Regions from separate parts of the Homo sapiens genome. Here regions 2 and 3 are each linked to region 1. The links are contacts of gene promoters, found by promoter capture Hi-C in blood cells and fetal thymus (Javierre and others, 2016). All regions are on one chromosome and are shown on one strand. The core of a region is centred on a gene start or on the middle of the fragment in contact, and the rest is flanking DNA. Distances in the headings are between cores, read along the strand shown. Region 1 holds the start of CACNA1S (calcium voltage-gated channel subunit alpha1 S). Region 2 overlaps KIF14 (kinesin family member 14). Region 3 holds the start of TNNI1 (troponin I1, slow skeletal type).

The links. Contacts are between HindIII fragments. The CHiCAGO score rates a contact against its expected background, and 5 or more counts as called.
Region 2: a fragment that was not itself captured here is called in contact with the fragment with the promoter of CACNA1S in region 1 in 1 of 17 cell types (total CD4 T cells); the score reaches 5.2 in total CD4 T cells.
Region 3: the fragment with the promoter of TNNI1 here is called in contact with the fragment with the promoter of CACNA1S in region 1 in 1 of 17 cell types (M1 macrophages); the score reaches 5.4 in M1 macrophages.

What each region holds. Positions count from the first base shown.
Region 1 is chr1:201,110,957-201,113,937 of GRCh38, forward strand. CACNA1S (calcium voltage-gated channel subunit alpha1 S) reads right to left here and starts at 1,470. Exons shown (of 44, transcript NM_000069.3): 1 at 1,232-1,470. The coding sequence starts at 1,383. The HindIII fragment of the contact is 9,593 bases long and covers 1-2,981 here.
Region 2 is chr1:200,605,146-200,608,126 of GRCh38, forward strand. KIF14 (kinesin family member 14) reads right to left here. Exons shown (of 30, transcript NM_014875.3): 6 at 1,601-1,653; 7 at 719-749; 8 at 138-245. Among named protein-coding and RNA genes, the nearest start is that of KIF14, 14 kb to the right of the region's middle. The HindIII fragment of the contact is 1,924 bases long and covers 527-2,450 here.
Region 3 is chr1:201,420,275-201,423,255 of GRCh38, forward strand. It overlaps TNNI1 (troponin I1, slow skeletal type), which reads right to left and starts at 1,456. Exons shown (of 9, transcript NM_003281.4): 1 at 1,399-1,456. The HindIII fragment of the contact is 15,457 bases long and covers 1-2,981 here.

The DNA.
Region 1 (2,981 bases), core at 220-2,719:
TGGGGGTGGATGGGGAGGCATATTACGTAGTTGGGCTTGACAGAAAAATCCCATTCTCTTCCCAGTAACCTCCAGTGTTTGAGAAAAGAGGAGGGCCACAGGGGCAGGGCGCAGAGGAGCAGAGGATGGAGGAGAGGGAGAACCCACAGAGTAAACCTGATTGCAGAAGAGAGGCAAGGAGGGAGGGCCTAGGAGGGTTTGATGTGGGCGATATACCGCCTGGCCGAGAGCGGGTCAGGGGAACAGGGCTGACCCTGACCCCAAACTATCTCTACTTGCCCCACGTTTCTCTTGTCCTTCCAGTTATCCCTCATTCTCCTTCCTTCTAGGGAACAGCTGGTAGGAGCCCAGCCTTCCAGAACTCTTCAGAAATATTTCAAATATGCCCCACCCTCGCTCTCAGAACCCACTTGACACAGCCCTCCCCTTCTCTCTGTCACTCCTTCCTCCCTTCCCCAAATAACCCAGATATTTTCATCATTCTCCCCACCAGAGCAAATGCAAACATAGCATGAGTTTCAAAGTCCCTGTCCCCAGGGTGGCACGTCTGAGCTAGAACAACCAGGCTTGTTTGGCCTGTGTCTTGGAGCCACTGAGACCAGGTGTCTTTCAGATCCATTTCTCCCCTTGGCTCTGTCCTCAGCTGGGACCTGCCCCCAGAGGAAGCCTTCCTTCAGCTCACCTCTGTCCACTGTCACCCCCCACCCAACCCAAACAAGGGAGAGTTTTCTCAAAGAGGCCATCGCATCTTTTTTTGGTCCCTATCCTATTCTAAAATGAGGCTGGTGCTTCAAAAACCTAGTGGCACCCCATGATAATGTGGATTTGGGCACACATGGGAACAGTCCCCATGAAACAGGCCCCACCCATAGGTGGTCAGTAGGCATCTCTGGTTGTCATCCAGGACTTGGGTGGCCCACTCAGGCCCAGGAAGCCCCACCAAGTCCTCCTTCTCTTCCTCTTCCTCCTCCTCCTCTTCCTCCTCCTCCCCCACCCTCCTCCTCTTCCTCCTCCTCCCCCACCCTCCTCGTCTTCCTCCTCTTCCTCCTCCTCCTCTCCTGCTTAGCCGAGGGCTCCTTCCCCCAGCTCCTCACTCAATTCTGTGAGTTCACCCCATGTCTAAGTGCCAGGCCTCCCTGGCCCTCCTGTAGGAAGTTTGTGCTCTGTGATCACCCCGAATCCCTCCCTCATGACGCACACCCCCCCCCACGGCCCGGGCCCTGAAGGATACTTCCATTCTACAATGCTGATGCAGGCCTTCCTCAGGGGGTTCTCCAGGGTCAGGCAGAACAAGGCCCGGGGTGGCCTTGGCAGAATCTCAGGAACTGGCTTCTTGGGCTGTTTCTTCCTCAGGCCTTCATCCTGGGGTGAGGATGGCTCCATGGCTTCCCTGGGAATCTGGCTTTCTCCTGCTCCCCCACCCCAGTGCTTTCCCTTCCCTGTGTCCCCAATGCCCCCGCCTTGGGGACTAGGCTGGCTGAGGCTGTCGGCTGAGCCTGCCCTGCTGAGCCAGCCAGGGGGCGGGGGCAGGAGTGGGGGCAGGAGGATTACTCTCCTCGCTCCCAGCAAGTAAAATTAGCCTCCACTCGGCTCCCCGCTGCCGGGCCTGAGCTTCTGAGGCCAGGCAGCTGTCATTCCACCCAGCCCAGCCAGTGACTTCCCAATCTGTCCCCTGAGGAGGGTGGGGTGGGTCGGGGGAAGAACTTACACACAGGCCTGGGATGGGGCAGGGGCAGTGGGAGAGGGAGACAGGATGGAAGGTTTCAAGCCTGGGGCAACAGAGGTCAGGAATAGGTAGCCTTGGATATGGAACCTCAAACTGCAGAGTGGCCCCCTCATGCCAAAATTAGGCTTACCCCTCCTCAGCCCCATGACATTGTCTGGAGAAGGCACTGGGCAGCCTAAGTCAGGACAGCTCCACAGCAGCCCCTACCCATCTCAGTATCTGCACCATCAGCCAAAACTCCCCAAGCATACCCTCAACCCACCCCCACAAGCAATCCCATGTCAGAGAAACAGTAAACCCCTCTCCAGTGGGCTAGAAGGCTCCCAGAACAACCCTGAGTGTGCACACCTCTGGCATAGCACCTGCCTCACTGTGGAGCATCTGCTGTGTATCTTTCTTCCCCATCTCCTCCCATCCCTACAGGTGTAAAGGTTGTGTGCATTATCTCTGGGACTCTGGCCCCTTCTCTGCACAGTCCCCCTATGTACTATGCTCCCTGTAAATGTTCACTGAGGCCAGGCATGGTGGCTCACGCCTGTAATCCCAACACTTTGGGAGGCTGAGGTGGGAGAATGGCTTGAGCTCAGGACTTCAAGACCAGTCGGGGCAACGTAGTGAAACTCTGTCTCTACAAAAAATACAAAAATTAGCAGGGTATGGTGGTGTGTGTTTGTAGTCCCAGCTACTAGGGGGGCCAAGGTGGGAGGATCAGTTGAGCCTGGGAGGTTGAGGCTGCAATGAGCCAAGATCTGGCCACTGCACTCCAGCCTGGATGACAGAGTGAGACAGAGTGAGACCTTGTCTCAAAAAGAAAAGTTCATTGAGGATAGCCACGGTAATCCCAGCACTTTGGGAAACCAAGGTAGGTAGATAACTTGAGGTGAGGAATTCGAGACCAGCATGGCCAACATGGTGAAACCCGCATTCTACTAAAAATACCAAAGATTAGCGGGCGTGGTGGTGTGCACCTATAATCCCAGCTACTCTGGAGGCTGAGGCAGGAGAATTGCTCAAACCCAGGAGAAGGAGGTTGCAGTGAGCAGGGATTGAATCACTGCACTCCAGTCTGGGCAACAGAGCAAAACCTGTCTCAAAAAAAAAAAAAAAAAAAAAAAAATTCATTGAACGCCTGAGCTAACAACACTGAATCTTAAATGTGCTGAGCTAACAGCGAACCCCACATATCCTCCCAGCAAGTACTCTGGGCTGGGAGTGAGAATAAGAAAGGGGCACCAGGAAGGGTGAGGGTAGACAA
Region 2 (2,981 bases), core at 239-2,738, 510 kb before region 1:
GGAAAAAAAATACCTTGGTCTGGGTGATCACCAGGGTGAAAACTGAATGAGATCGGGAACTTTTTAAAAAAATACCTTGGTCTGGGTTATCACCAGGGTGAAAACTGAAAGAGATCGGGAACTTTTAAAAAAAATACCTTGGTCTGGGTCATCACCAGGGTGAAAACTGAATGAGATCGGGAACTTTTATCATTCATACCAGTAGCAGCAGTAGCTCTTTGTTTATTTCCCAATTCTAGCCAACTCTTATAAGAAAAAAGGAAGGAAGATCAGATCAGCAGACTGTAACTCAATGATATAAAAATTAAGAGAGACAACATATACACATTTGTAATTCAGATCAGCAGACTGTAACTCAATGATATAAAAATTAAGAGAGATAACATATACACATTTGTAATTAATTTATAAAATGAAATGAGTAAATATTTATCTTTTAATAATTTGTATTCCCATTGCCTTTTTTTCTGTCATAGAAATCTGAGGCAGGAAATAATAACTTTAAAAGGCTGTTTCCATAACTCTAAGCTTACATGAAGGTCAACATTTTTAATAAAGAAGAGCAATTATTTTGATTAAAACTTAACAAAATCGGTTTGTGATAAATTAAGGAAACTAACCTTTTATTTGTAAAACAGCAATTAAGAAAAAATATTCTTATAAATATTTAGGATTATGCTCTTTCTATCTAGTGAAAAGAAAACAAAATCAATCTTACCTGGATATCAGCGTAAGAACTGACAATGTTCCTATTTTTAAGAAGTGAAAAGACAAAATCAATTTTACTGATGATTATACTCTTGTTCTCATAAAACAATAACATTTCAATTACATATTTACGCTGAAGATCACAATGGACTAATTCATGAATATTATTTTATTGATTCTCCCAGAATCTTTTATTTTCCCCATTCTTGAAGGACAGGAAATAAAATAATGCTTTAATTTTAACAAAAAGTATGATTTTTCTTAATACAATGAAGCACCTTAGCATCTTAATATTCAAGTCTAAGTCACAATACCAAAAGATATACTTTAACACATATGTATATGCATAGGTATATTTATATGTGGGTGTATATGGGTCCCAATACAATCCCAGATGTATTAAATGCAGCTGAGTTAATACTTAATAACTTTTCCTTTCCTTTAAGAAAGCATTTGCAGTGTTGGAAAAAAAAGTAAATGACTCCTAGCATGCATCAAACTCTTAACTCTTCTTAGTACCCTCTTCCCTGTCTAGCTTAGAGTCATAGGTATAAAAAGCAGGTTGAGAGGGAAGATTAAATTAATAGTGAAAGGAAGGGGTAAAAGAAAGAAAAAGCAAATATTTACTTCATAGTATAATGAATACTCCATGGCAGACACTTTACAGGTACTATGAAAGACACATGCAAGTATTAAAACAAGTAACTAACACTCTATGGAAAGAGAGGGAAAACCTAATTGGACAATATCAAGGGTAGAAGGCTAAATAAATAGTTACCCAGGGTTTCAAAGTTAGGAAGGCCAATGAGAATACAATAAAGATTATGGGAGAGTAACATTCACTCTATTCATTTGTTTTATCCTCTTTGCCCTTGCTGAGCCAAATACTTACATTGACAGTGCTTCAACATATGGTCCATAAACAGGATGTTCCCTCACTCTCAGCTAGAAGAAGCAAATACATGCATCATTAGGAGTATGACAAATATTTCATGTAACTTGAAATGATCACTTTTTCTACATCTTGAGTTTAAGGTAAGAGATTTGTCTTTATTTTATCCAGGAAAAAAAAAAACCACAAAAACTCTCACAAAAACAAATCTGTAAGGCATTAGGAAACAGCTTCAATATAAAAAACTGTTCATAGTAGCACAATATGCAACAATATATTGTAGCATCAAGTCTTACTAGTTTTTTTATTCTTAAAAAACTGCTATTAGAATTGTCTAATAGACAATAATTAGAACAATATATTTTAGCATCAGATGTCTTACTAGTTTTTTGTTTGTTTGTTTGTCTGTTTTGAGACAGAGTCCTGCTCTGTGGCCCAGGCTGGAGTACAGTGGTGCAATCTTGGCTCAGTGCAACCTCTGCCTCCTGGGTTCAAGCGATTCTCCTACCTCGGCCTTCTGAGTAGCTGAGATTACAAGACAGTGCCACCACACCAGCTAACTTTTGTATTTTCAGTAGAGAAGGAGTTTCACCATGTTGGCTAGGCTGGTCGGGAACTCCTGACCTCAAGTGATCCGCCCACCTCAGCCTCCCAAAGTACTGGGATTGCAGGCGTCAGCCACCGTACCCAGCTTGTCTTCCTAGTTTTTCAGTAAGACATTTGAATGTTAAATCTTGCAGTAGCTATGATTTATATACTTTTAAATGCTCTCTAAAACATATTCGTTAAATTTCAGACATTAAAATTTTTCTTTATTGTTACATTATACATTTTCAACTTTGTGACCAGAAGCTTTAAACATATAGAAATCATAGAAGCAAATGTCAAGTTTTGTTTAAGTTTCTTGATGTTGCCAATAGTAAACTGCACAAACATGGGCAAGTGAAGAAGACAGCTGACTTCCTTTTTTTTCTTGAAATGGAGTCTTGCTCTGTCGCCAGGCTGGAGTGCGGTGGTGAAATCTCGGCTCACTGAAACCTCTGCCCCCGGGTTCAAGCGATTCTCCTGCATCAGCCTCCTGAGTAGCTGGGACTACAGGCACGCGCCACCATGCCAAGCTAATTTTTGTATTTTTAGTAGAGACAGGGTTTCACCATGTTGGCCAGGATGGTCTCCATCTCTTGACCTAGTGATCCACCTGCCTTGACCTCCCAAAGTGCTGTGATTACAGGTGTGAGCCAACACGCCCAGCCGTCTTCTTTAGATTTTTGTTTATTGTGCTCCAAGGTCCATTGCAAAATTAAAAATTTTAAATTTGAATAGCAGTTTTTAAAAAAGATTATATAATTGTGAAACTTTCTATTTCACAGATTATCTACAA
Region 3 (2,981 bases), core at 206-2,705, 310 kb after region 1:
CTGACACCCCTCAGACGGGGGCCCTTGCCAGGCTCTGTGGAAGACAAGCGAGGACTGATAAGTCAGGATGAAGATAGCAGCCACTGGAAGGCTTGGAGAGCCAGGATTCCATCTCCTCTACAAGTAGCAAGCAAGGAGATAATGAGAAAATCCTCCCCCCGAGGGGGGGAGCAAAGAGTCTCTGGTGGTTGCCTCAGAGCTGGGCTTTCCCTTCCTTGAGGCTTTGCAGCGTGGAAGGGACTATCCGCTAGACTATGAGATTGAGTCTGTGTGTGTAAGTGTGTGTAAGTGACTGTGTGTGAGAGTGTGAGTGTGAGAGAGAGAGCGTGTATATGTAGGGGAAAGAACTGATCTCTTTGCACACCCAATGATCACGTCCACAAGTATCTAGTTAGGCTCATGTGCTTCCCCCTGCTCCCCGCCCCCTGACCTTGGACCCCCATTCAAGGGCATCCCTGTCTTCCTTGACTGACGGTTAACACTCCCAAGTGCATGGCGCTGGGCTGCCCCCATCTTGAGTTCTGAACAGCAAAGCCTAATCTCAGAGCTGCTGTGGGACTGTGACTCCCAAACCTGGTGGCAGGTGCTGCCTTCAGCCCCCACCTGAGTCAGGGACCGCCACACGGCCCCCTGCCCCAAGCCTTGGGTTACCCTGTAGATACTGCCCTGGCTTATGTGTTCACTGGCTCCTGTGCCCCAACCCAAAATGCCGCCACCATTGCCTTCCTCCAAGAGGACCCCCAGTATCTACTGCTGCTTCTCAGAGCCAGGAGCTCTGAGCAGGAGCAGTCAAGAGGGGTTGCCGGTCTGCCCTCCTCTGCTCTTGTGCTACACTACAGAGGGATAGGCAAAGGGAGCTAACAGCGTCGCTCAGAGACAAAGAACACAGAAGCAAGATGGTTTCCTTGGCCAGCAGGGAGCTCTGGCCCTGCCTTCTAGGCTCCCTGGGAGTCCTGCGCGTCAGGCACCCTCCTTCTCTTCCGCTGCAGGCATTGCTGACTTTGAGCACTCACCCTGGCTCTCTGATCCCAGGGCCACCCCTTCCCCTGGGTGCGCTCTCCCTCCCACACTCTGCTGGGCATCCTGTGTGAAAACATCATCCCTTAGGCTCTGCCCTGGGGCTCCTAAGGAACCTCACGGAAGATTCTGCTCCTTGCTCACAGCCTCCAAATGGCCAGGAAAAAGTTTCACCTCTCACAACAGTTTTGCAGGAGAGATGCCATTCTGTGGGACAAAATGCTGTGGGAGTATTTTAGGAATGTTCTACCAACAAACCAACTGCACAGGCAAGAAATGGTTTTCTCCAGCTCCAAGACCTCGCTTTCTCCTTAAACAAAAGCCCCAGGTTCTCTGCCTGGGATCAACCTACATCTGAAGTTCTGGGCTGCAGACGCTTACCTTGTTCAGTCCTCGTGGAGCTGGGCTGGCCTGTGCCTCGCCGTAGACTGCAGACTGTGAGGGGCAGAGCCGAGGGGAGGCTATGAAAACTGTGTCCAGCAGCAACTGGCTGGTAAAAATAGAACAGACCCACTGCCCCCTCCTGCTGCCCCTCCTCCCTCCCACCCTTCACACACACACACACACACACACACACACACACACACACACACACCTCACAGGGCAGATGCGTGCTGCAATGCACACAACAGGCACATAGGCGGAAAGCCATGTGAATTTGTGGCTCAGGAGCAGAGGCAAATTCTGTGCACATAGGTGCCACCAACTGAGTGAAACCAGCACCCACCTGGGGAGACTCGAGCTGCAGAAAGGGAAAGAATGAGCAGCCAGACCAGGTGTGGGGACTGAGCAGAGATGGGACTGGGAGGGGGAATGAGGGAGAGCAAAGGGCCACAGTGAAGGCCCAGAGGGGCAAGTAGCAGCTGGGGGAAGAGGACCATTGGGCTAACCCTGCATCTCTTATAAGGCAATATGGAAATGAGGCCCCTGAACCCATGCCCCAAAAGCCCAAGAGGGCTAAAGACTCAGCTTTCAGGGATTTTTCAGTGGCTCTGGTGCACGTGGGATACGAGGGTGCCTGGCTGTGGGGAGTGATGTGAGCAGTGTTGCAGGCTGACCCCAGTGAGTGTTTCCAGGGCTGAGCAGAATGGCAGTGGCAGCAGGGCACACCTTTATGCTCAGGGAGGTCTGAGGGTCTGCAGACACTCTGCATCCCCCTCCAGATGGGTTTCCTGGAATCTAGATTTCCCAGGTTCCAAAGGACACCCGAGTCTCATGCCTGGAACTCAGTGAGACTAATTCACCTCTCCTCTGCCCTAATCTTCATCTCCAGCCAGAAGCCAACAGATCCCAGGGGACTGGAGCCACAGGGGCTGCACCTGTTTACCGGGTATTTTTAGGATGGTTGATGAACACATAATACCCACCCTATAGTCAGAGAAAGACAATGCCTGCTATGTTAATCCTGTGGCTATTATAGTCTGTCATCTCATGGGTTGGGGCAGGACACTGACCCTCTCAGAGGCCAGAGAGAGGCCTCGCAAGCAGGAGGTTAGGGAGCCCCAGCCATGCTCCCCATTTGGAGAAGGAGAGAGTAATGGGCAGGGGTGTCCTAAGGAGACACACCCCAGTGCCCACAGAGGTAAAGGCCCTGCCCTCTCTACAACGACATTCTGCTGCCTAATAGAGGTTGCTCTAATTCTGTTCTGGTCGGGTCAACTTTGAGAAGCCTCTATGTGAGACGGCTGCCAGGGAGAAATGACAGGGTCTGGGGAGGCATAGGGGTTGGGGACATAGGATTCCAAGTGGAGAGGCTGTGATGGATAATGAAGGCAGGCTCCAGCCAAAAGGAGCAGCTAGAGGGGAGAAGGAATTTAGGGGCTTTGCAGATGAGCCTACTGGAGTTTATTGCCTTGGCTTATTATAATTTATACAATAACTTTCCATTTATTTATTTATTTATTTATATACTTTTGGAGACAGAGTCTCACTCTGTCACCCAGGCTGGAGTACAGGGGCTCTGT